Linked DNA regions of Homo sapiens: region 2 is linked to region 1. The links are contacts of gene promoters, found by promoter capture Hi-C in human tissues and cell types (Jung and others, 2019). All regions are on one chromosome and are shown on one strand. The core of a region is centred on a gene start or on the middle of the fragment in contact, and the rest is flanking DNA. Distances in the headings are between cores, read along the strand shown. Region 1 holds the start of ADNP2 (ADNP homeobox 2). Region 2 overlaps SLC66A2 (solute carrier family 66 member 2).

What was found. Contacts are between HindIII fragments. The study calls those that stand out against the background at their distance.
Region 2: a contact is called between a fragment that was not itself captured here and the fragment with the promoter of ADNP2 in region 1, in 2 of the 25 tissues and cell types used here (dorsolateral prefrontal cortex and lymphoblastoid cells).

Annotation. Positions count from the first base shown.
Region 1 is chr18:80,105,884-80,111,149 of GRCh38, forward strand. It overlaps ADNP2 (ADNP homeobox 2), which reads left to right and starts at 3,379. Exons shown (of 4, transcript NM_014913.4): 1 at 3,379-3,589. RefSeq lists enhancers at 1,802-2,303, 3,130-3,631 and silencers at 3,441-3,600, 3,801-3,900. The HindIII fragment of the contact is 8,526 bases long and covers 1-5,266 here.
Region 2 is chr18:79,913,599-79,918,717 of GRCh38, forward strand. The region is part of intron 5 of SLC66A2 (solute carrier family 66 member 2); the gene reads right to left. Among named protein-coding and RNA genes, the nearest start is that of SLC66A2, 35 kb to the right of the region's middle. The HindIII fragment of the contact is 9,290 bases long and covers 1-5,119 here.

The sequences.
Region 1 (5,266 bases), core at 2,129-4,628:
AGAATAAACCTGCATGAGCTGTGACTCGCCTGGTAGATAAGTCCTGAGGCCCAACCTGTGTCTTCGGTTTGATGACTTCAGTGTGGTGCACTTTCCTGAGTCTATGAAAATAATCTTGACAAGTCCCCAGGTCACATTGCTCATTCCTTCTGTGGTGGGAGGGACAGTCCTTTTTATCTCAATGCTGTGGATGGTGGTTTTAAACTGTATTCATCAGATATCCATGCTGAAGTGTTTAAGGATGGTGTACTGATGTTTTCTAAAAAAAAAAACAGTCGAGATGAATATTTGAATACATATGCGATAAAGCAAGTAAGCAAATGTTAACTGGAAGAGCTAGGTGATGGTTGTTTTCTGAACAATTATTTCAGCTTTTCAGTACATTCAACATTTTCATAGCAAAATGCAGGGGGAAAATCATTCAACATTTAAATTTTATTATATTTATTAGATTTGTATTTATGAAAATGTTGATATTGTATTTATTAAAGTAATGTAGGCATCAGGGATACAATGATGAATGAGACACGGTCCTTACTGGTGCCCCATAGAGAGACAAGCAGTGAGCAGATAACAGTAAACAACGTGGTGAGGGCAGCAGGAGACACACACAATGTTTTGGGAATGTCAAGAAGTACCTACCATATTTTGACTGTGTGTGTGTGTGTGTGTGTGTGTGTGTGTGTGTTCAGGGAGATCTTTCTGGGAGAGAGGCCGGTAGAGTTCAGCCTTGAATGGCAATGGAATGAAAATTAGCTCAGGGGTTGGGACAGGAGTCCCATGAACAAACACCGTGTGGTGTTTACAGGCTGGGGACTGACTGGTCAGCTTTGGAGAATTTGTGTGTCGTGCTCACCAGCTGGGCTTGATTCCTGGGGGATTTTGAGTGATTGCAGCAAGAAGGGAAGGACAGTCAGGTTCACTCTCTAAAAGGGCTGACTGGGGAAAGTACCTGAGGCACCAAGCTGGAGGTAAGGTGGTGGGAGCCTGTGCAGGTGTTACAGGCAGGAGATGACCTGAATGCAGGTAGTGATAGTGCGGCTGCAGATGAGGGAAGAGATCTGACGAATATTTGGGATATAAAATTGGAAAACTGGAGATGGGGAACACACTGCTTGCTGTAGGAGAGGCTGTTGAGGAGAGAATGATGGGCTCAGATTTGAACGTTTTGAATCTGAGTTGCCTGTGGGACTCTGAAGTGGAGCTGCCCCCTTTGGCAGCCAGAAAAATAAAACTGAAACGTAGGAAAGAGATGGAGATACTGGTTTGGAATTGACATAACAAGGTTTGAATCTGTGGTCGAAATTAACAAGGGAGAAAATGCAGAAAAAAATGAAAGGCGTGGGAGTTCCAATACCCAGCACGGTGCCTGGCACACAGGAAGCGAGTGGCGCATATGTGCTGCACCGTGAAGGAAAAAGTCAGCAGGATCCCAGAGAACACCGCGTTCAAGGATGGGCCGGGAAGAGATGCAGGCGAAGATGAGGAAACAGTTCGTGAATATGGAGATGAAAGAGCCCGTCTGGGGAGTAGTGGGTGTGGGGGGGGGCGGCTTTGTGGGGGGAGGTCTGTAGATTAGGAAACAGTTCCCGAGTTTGGAGATTAAAGAGCCCGTTTGAGGAGTAGTGGTGGTGGGGCGGCTTTGTTGCGGGAGGTCTGTAGGAAAGGGGGATTGGTCTGTAGTAACAAATGGAAGATAGATACAGAAAGACGAGGCCTAAAATCTGTTTTGGGCTCAGCAATTAGGAGGGCGCTGGTGACCAAGGCGTTTCTGCAGAGTGGTGAGGGTGGGGGCGAGAGGCGTGCAGGGGGCTGAGGAGACAGACACAGGGACTGCTGTTTTGAGAAATGTGATAAAATGAGAGGTCACTAGAGGATCAATGGGAGACTGCAGGCTTTAACTACACTTTTCATCCCACCCATAATTTTGCAAGGAAGATATATAGGGACATCACACCCATTTACCACTGTAACTCAAAGTAAAATCTTAACTTGTCAGCAAACATAAAGGGCAAACTCTACTTCAATTATGACTTGTATTCATGTAGGAAAAAAGCAAATTTTGGTCAGGTCATATCGGCCCACCATTTAACACAGTTTTAAAACGAATATGGACATTAATTTAGTGCCTATTATGTGTTTAGTCACTGGGCTAAACTGAGCAGAAGGCTCCCATTGAGAGGGAAAAGCTGAAATTATGGACGAGCGGATGGTGACAAGGAGGCTCTGGAGAGGGCGGTGGGCGGAAGGCCCAGCCTGGGCACGGCCTCTGCCCCGCGGTGGCTGGAGTGGGCCTCAGGGCTGGAGGCTGGCGGCGGGTTGCAGGGGCTCGGCGCTCTGGAAGGAGACGTGGCCTTGTGCTGAAAGGGGCACGTGTCCTGCAGACGGCTTCGCCAAGAAGGAACTGCCTGGAACAGCCACTGAGGGCGCGGCTGAGTTAGGGTCAGGGGAAGGAACACTGGAGGGGAGTTAGGGTCAGAGTCAGGGTTAGTGCTAGGTGAGGTTCAGGTGCAGGGTCAGAATTAGGGTTAAGGTTAGGGGCACTGGGGGAGGCGCCTGCGCTGCCCTCGTGGTTACTCCCACGTGCTCTGGGGCACGAGGGCGTCCGCCAGAGGCCTGGGGACTCCACGGAACGAAGACCTAGAGCCATTTTGAAAGCCCTACGCCATGTTTCCACTAATTTTGTGGAATAAATTATTATTGCTACACAATTGATAAACACCTGTGCAAAAATGAACTTTTAGGTTAAGAGTTTATACAAATGTATGCAATTAACCCTCTCCCCACACAACTTGTAGTAGATCTAAAAATCAGAATTCTCAAGAGAAGGTGTGATCACTTTCCCACAGGAATGATGAAGTCAGGAGACCCCAGCTAGTCGGTTCACCAGGATATGCCAATCATGGCACACTTGTCCCAGTTCTGGGAGCCAAAGTTTTGTCTTCCAATGGCAAGGCAGCATTATCACAGTTGGGCTCCCATTGGCTCTGAGATGTGGGCGGGGTCACCACTCCTGGAGCTGCCACTAGCTCCACCCCATTCCATGCAAATGAAGTCAAAGCTGTGGTGAGTCCACGTGATTAGTCACATGGTTGATGACACACTCTCCCCACCCCTTTAGTGACGTCATTGCCCACTCAAACTCTCACGAGAGTTTGCACAGATGTGGAAAGGAGCTGGCAGGGCAGTTCCCTGGGACAGAAGGGAGTCAGGGGGTCCAACAGGGGCCCCCCACTGCCACCCCAGAGCCTCCAGTCCATCTTTAGCCAGGGGCCCCGGGGGGCCTGTGGGAAGTGCCAGGGGCCCCCAAGCACACTCTGCTCTCATTGGCTGGCTGCGCCTACATGCAAATGAGGGCCAACGTCACTTCCTGAGGCCAATCGAGCGCCATTTTCTCTTTCTGGCTGCGCGGGAGGAGGGGACCAGTCGCGCTGGGGGTGGGCGCGCGCTGAGGCGGGGGTCCCGCCGCGCGGGGCGGAGGCGCGGGCGGGCGCAGGCGGCCCCACGGGACGCGGCTGCGCTCGGCGGAAGACGCGGCAGCCCTGCGAGAGGCAGCAGCGGAGACGCGGTGCTCCTCGGGCGCCAAGCGGTAGGTACGGCCCGGCCCGGCGCGGGCCCGCGCGGCGACGCCCCCTGCCCCGGTCCTGGCCCCCGCCCCAGTCTGGTCCCCTCCGAGCCCCGCCCCCGCCGGTACCCAGCCCACACCCACGCCCGCCGCCTGCCCTCGCGCCGCCCGTGGCCGCCTCGGGAATCCCGGGACGTTCTCAGGGCGCGGGTTCGCGGCCCGAACGGCGCCCGTCGACCCCCGACGCGCCCGCGGCCCGCCCCGCCCGCCGCCGGTCACGTGGGAGCGGGGGCCGCCCCGGGAGGGCGGAGAAGGGGATGGGGACCTGAGGGGAGAGTAGGAATAGGGGAAAGACGAGGACGGGGACCGAGGGAGAGAGGGGGGCTGGTGAAGGGAGCGAGGAGTAGAGGGAGAGGGAACGGGGATGGAGAAGAAGAGAGGGGGCAAGGAGCTGTGGCGACCCCTGTAAGGACTCCAGAAACGCCCCGCCCGCTGGCCCGCCCGCCGCATCCCCGAGACCGGGTTCTCCTGGAAGCTTCTCTCTGGAGGAGCCTTGAGTGACGGCAGATGTAGGTCAGGAGCTGACGGTGACACCTAAATCTGCCCAGGTTTTTTTTTCCCTAGAAAGGTTTGAAGAACAGCTGATAACGGGGCCCTGTTTCTTCATCGTTGAGCTTTTGATGCGAATATCAATAATTGATATACAGATGTTGACTTTAACATTACTTTTCATCTGCCGTTGCTGGTTGCATTGAAATAGATTCCGTTTACAAAATTTCTACTACAGTTGACTTTGGAATGTTAATTTTAACTGCCCTTTTAAATACTGTACAGATGCAGAATGAGAAATAATTAGATATTTTAAGTAGTTTATTTGAACAGAAGACTTGCCTGCGTGCTTAAAACTTACTCTATTTGCACGGGTAATCACTGCCTCTTGGGATCTTGAGGAATATACTGGCTGTGGAGGAGTGGGGTGGGGGAGGAGAAACTGGTAAGCAGGTAACTGACAATGCAGATTGGCAAGTGGGGCAGCAGTTTGTAGAGTACTGTGGGCATCTGCCACGCAGAGCCTTTATCAAAAGAGGGGGTTTGGAGTCTGGGTACCATTTTTGGGGGTGAGGAGCATTAGTGGGAGAGAGGACCACATGTAAAAAGAGTTGTGTAAAGTACATGTTCAGCTGTATTTGGAAGTCGGTAATGTATGTGTAACTTATTTAAAGATGTTCTTGGAGAGTTGGCCATGTATGAGTGTGTATTAATATTTCGGTTAAATTTCGGTTGGAGTTAGGACTTCACTGCGAAGACAGCATTGAGCCCGTCGTCCTTAAACATGAAGTGACAGATGTGTGTTAAGAAAGGAAGTACAAGAGTGAAGATGAGACAAGAGGTTGTCCTACCGGCCCTCTAGTTGAGGGGAGGAACAGTGAGGGTTAGGACATGTCTGAAAGGAGTTGATCACTGTTTATGGGGGAAGATGACAGCTATGCTAAGATTTTTAGCTGAAGAGATTCTGGGATTTGGGAGACACGTTTTTAATTTGAACCCAAGTTTGCAATATGCTGTTGGTTAATTTATGATTGCCCTCATAAGTTCACCAATAGCATATTGCAAACTTGGTTTCTGCCCTGCCCTTCATCCTCTGGCTATCCTAGACCTGTTAGGGCAATGTGTTACATAGGTGGAAACCGGTATCTCCCA
Region 2 (5,119 bases), core at 18-2,517, 190 kb before region 1:
GCATGCGCGCACGCGCGCATGGAGGCAACTGTGCATGCCGGCCTGTGCACGTGTGTGCAAGTACACGAGACACAGGACTTTCCAGAAGCAGGGCTGCTACGAGATCAACTCGGGAATTCTTGAGTCACTTCCTATCAAACATCCTAGAGACCTTCGGTTTAATGTGGAGCTGAGGCTGTGGGTCCCAGGGAAGATTCCAGGCAGCATCTACGCCTCCCTCACCTAGGGCAGTGGCACTAGCAGGTCCCCAGAGAAAAGGAGCTGAAGTTCAGGCTGTCACGTTTCAGGCTCATGTCACCATTCGCCACCAAAGTCTTGTTTGTTTTTTTACATGGAGTCTCACTCTGTTGCCCAGGCTGGAGTGCAGTGGCGCGATCTTGGCTCACTGCAACCTCCGCCCCCCAGGTTCAAGTGATTCTCCTGCCTCAGCTTCCTGAGTAGCTGGGATTACAGACGCCTGCCACACCTAGCTAATTTTTGCATTTTTAGTAGAGACAGGGTTTCACCATCTTGGCCAGGCTGGTCTTGAACTCCTAACCTTGTGATCCACCTGCCCTGGCCTCCCAAAGTGCTGGGATTACAGGCGTGAGCCACCGCGCCCAGCCCAAAGTCTTGGTTTTTTGGGTATCTGTTAAGTACGTGTGTGTGCACATTTTAAATACGTCATCTTAAACACGACCCTGGAGATTATACAGGAAGCACACATGATCTATCAAACCTGCATTCAGAAACCACTACCCACAATGGCTTCAAGAATCACAACTCCTGACAGGGCTGGGGATACCACGACGCCCCCATCAGGCAGATCGGAGCACAAAGGAACCTGAGACGTCTCTGACCTGCCTCCAGATGGGGGGTGGTCTGACAGCAGGAAGTGGGGGGTCACTCCAGCCCACCCCAAGGCTGCCGTGGCCCCGGAGGAACAGGCAGGTACCACAGGAGCACCCAGGAAGTGGCAAAGGGGAGAGACACCCCCTTGCCCAAGCTGCGTCTGGAGAGCGAGTGGAACCCAGGCCGGGGAGGGCTGAAGATCCACGGAGCGGTGGCCTGGACCCATGCGGAGAAGCCAGAAGACCACACAGCAAGGGGGGCAGAGGTGGGGACCCTGTGCCCCACAGGCTGCAGTGCCAAGGGAGGAAGGTGGGCAGGGCCCACAGGCCCAAAGAGACGGAGCTTCAGACGCGCAAGTGGAGCCGGCTCCAGACTCAGCCCTGCCCAGAGGGAGCCTCAGGAACAGCCCCCAGGTCGCCGGCCCTAGCCCTGCAGGCCCTGCCTTGCCCAGGCTGCCAGGTGGCGTCTCAGGTTGTGGAAGGCAGCTGCTGGGCCTCCAGAATTCACACTCGGGTGATACTAAAACCCAGGGCCAAGGTGAAACGCGGCGTCAGAGCAGCAGAAATAAGGACGTGCGGCACAAAGGCTGGGCCTGGAGTGGTCCTGTTCCCTTTCCCGTTTAGTGAGAACCCTCCCAAAACCTTCCCTCAGGCCATGCAGAGGCAACGTCCCCACAAGCAGACCCCAGACTTTGCCTGGCTGGCAGGCATGGGGTCAGGCTGGCTGTGCGTTCTAGCAGCAAACGCCTTATGTGTTCCAGTGGGAAAACCGCCCGATGGTCACTCTTAAAAGCGCAGACCGGATGAACTGGGCCTGGGGAGGGCTGAAGCTCCCGGCAGCACGGGCGGGGCCAGCCCCACCCCCTCCGCATCCCCCCAGGGCCCGCCCTGTCCCCTCCCCATCCCCCCGGGGCCAGGCCAGGGCCTCAGTGCACAGACTCTCCGGGGCGCTCATTACCGTAACTACAACCACACACTCCATCACTCCGAGCCGACCCGACGCTGCTGCTCCTGGTCCCCGTTCCTGACGAGGATGCACAGGGTCTCAGCGGTCCCGCACTTGAAGCTGGCTGACCTCGCTGCCTACTTCCTCCGCAGAGACTGCTCCATCTCCCTCAGCCTCAGGACTCCATCCAAGCCCTCACAACGTGCCAGCTGTGTGGGTCGCCCGTCTTCTGCCCGGCCCTCCCGGCAGGGACAGAGGCCAAGCCTCCTGTGGCCCGATGGGGAGATGGGGTGCCTGTGACATCCCGTCCCCAGCCACACCTGAGGTTTATAAAAGCAGAAGTTAGCCCAGGTGATCTCACAGGGGCTTGGCACTCACCCAGGGAGCAGGGCAAACTCAGAGGTAGAACACCTGCACCTCCTGGGATCCCTGAGACACGTTCCAAGTTCCGCAGCCAAGGAGAAGTATGCAGGCAAAGGACCATGACCCCGGCTCCCATCTCGCCCACACAGCACCCCCAATACTATTTTACATGTGTGTAAGTGTATCCGCATCCCACACACACGGGTTTTCATCCACGGTTCCAGGGTGCTAACTCCCACAGTGCTTCTGTACCCGCGGTGCTCTCATAGCCGCAGTGCTCCCGTACCCTCCCATACCCACGGTGCTCCCGTACCCATGGCGCTCCCATACCCACAGCGCTCCCGTACCCACGGTGCTCTCATACCCGCAGTGCTCCCGTACCCTCCCATACCCACGGTGCTCCCGTACCCGCGGCGCTCTCGTACCCGCAGTGCTCCCGTACCCTCCCATACCCACGGTGCTCCCGTACCCGCGGCGCTCTTGTACCTGCGGCACTCCCGTACCCGTGGTGCTCTCATAGCCGCAGTGCTCCCGTACCCGTGGTGCTCCCGTACCCGTGGTGCTCCCGTACCCGTGGTGCTCCCGTACCCACAGTGCTTCTGTAGCTCTTGTCATGACGTTGGGGTGCTTTAGGCCTCAGAAAACAGAATCTCTCTGACCTTTTGCCCTCTGTTCACCTGCCCAGGCAGGACTCTAACCCTCATTCCAGAGAGGGTCCTGCCGACATCCTGGAGGAAGGAGCCTGCACAGAGGACAGAAGAATCTCAACAGACCCTGCTGGGTTCACGTCGCACCCTTAGGTCCAATCACATTTCAACACCATTGTCCATCACGCCTATCCAATGAGGTCTCCCAAGTAGACAGGCTTTGGGAGGCTCCGGGGAGAGCTGAATTTGCGGGAGCCGGCAGGAGAGTGAACAGGAGCTCATCTGTGTGCCGTGAGGGCGGCAGCCCCACTCCACGAGACCGAGCTCCTGCCTGGGGACCCCTCCACAGCTCCCTCTGTGTATCCCCTCACTCGGCGGTTTATGTCTGTCCTTTAAAATGCTCTTTGTAAAATATCAGCAACCGTGTTTCCCAGAGCTCTGTGAGCCGCTCCAGCAAGCTGACAGAGCCCAAGGAGGGGTCATGGAACCCTAACATGGCCCAGAAGTTCCAGAGGCCCAGATTTGCGATGGGTGTCTAAGTGTGGGTGGCATCTGGCGCTGTCTCTGGGTCAGGACAACCGGCGGTGCCCGCCGCAGGACCGACTGCCTGCTCGGTGCTGGGGAGACGCCTGCACATGGAAGTGTGTGTGCTGCTTGTGGTGAAGTGAGTGAGAACAGGAAAAGCACGTCCAATGTGTTTCTTCCACACACAGACCCCCCTTCCACAGGCGTTTCTGGAGCCTTCCCCGTGTGTGAGAAGAGCAGACCTCAGGGCCTAAGACAGGCCTGCCTGCAGGGCCGCCTCGGCCAGCATCTGGAAACTCGGGTTTGAAGAGGATTCCCACGTCCCCCCAGCTGACGGGGCAGCCCCTGGGCTGAGACCTTGAACAACATGCCTGCGCTGAACAGCAAAACCTGCTACCCTGGAATCGAGAGCAACAGCTCCTGCCAAGCCTGGGGCCCCTGTGAGGTCACACACGGCCAGCTCCTTGTGAGGGGCCAGGAGGCCGGCATGTGGGGTCCGGATCCGCTAGACCCTCACCACGAGGCTGTGGTGATGCTCTGGAGGGCACAGGCCTGGCACCCAGGCACCTCCCACAGATCTCCAGGTCGCAAGCTCGGCACGCGGGCACTGCCCACAGGATCTCCAGCTGTGGGGTGGCTGGGGACGCCACACTCCGCCGGACAAGGCCCACGTCCAGCCGGGGAGCCTACATACGACGCCCGCCCTGAGACCCACTTTCTCTCTGGGAGCATCCCTGCCTTTTGGGCTCCACACCGAAGCCCTCAGGGCTGCCACTGCCCAACCCAACAGTGAGGGAGCCTGTTCCAGCCATGGACACCCTCTCGGGCCTCCATGCACCCTCGCCCGAGAAACCCCAGCAACCCCCCTGGTCTTGATTCACTGTAATCACACCAACCAGGGCAGCCCAATCCCCACCTGCACCCCACACCACACCCCAACCTGTACCTACCTCACACCATGCCAGCACCCCACACCTGACCCATGCCCCACACCTCTACCTACAGCCCACACCGGAACTCCATACCCCACACCCCAGCCCACACCTACACTTCACATCTGTGCCTATGTCCCACACCCACACCTACGCCACACACCTGTAACTGCAACCCACACCTATAACCCTGGCCTGCACCTACATCTCACCCCCTACCACCACCCCACACCTACGACAAGCCCTCCTACCTTTACCTCTCACGGGCAACTGAACCTACACACAACCCCCGGCCCTCACACCTCTGCCCACACGCCAAACCTGCAAATACTCAGAGGTCTCTGAAAGCCCTCAAGAGAGTGCTGTGGCCCCTGGGCACCCGTTCTCCAACACAAAAACGCGTCAGCCCCTCTCTTCCAGGCTGTTTCCCACAAATAACAAATCCAAGAATAACATTCCCTCCAAATCACAGCCTCAGCATCTGTATTGGAGACCAGACTCAAGCAACGTGTGGGGGCTCAGGGTGTTCTCCGTGAGGAGCGGGCACCGGGGGGCGGATCCCCAGTGAGGAGCGGGCCCGGGGGGGGGTCCCCAGTGAGGAGCGGGCACCGGGGAGGGTCCCCAGTGAGGAGCGGCACCGGGGGGTCCCCAGTGAGGAGCGGGCCTGGGGGTCGAAAGTGTGAGGGACTAGAGTTTTCTGCCCCCGCCACAGCGAGCAGATCTGTTTTTATTACAATGCAGTTTCCATCCAGGACCTTGACTGAGCCCGTGGGCATCATGCTGCTCGCGTTGTGCCCTACCTCTGGCGGTCACGGGGACGTCCAGGCACGCACTGGTGCAGGGCGCCCAGGCATGGTCTGTGGTTCCGAACGTCAG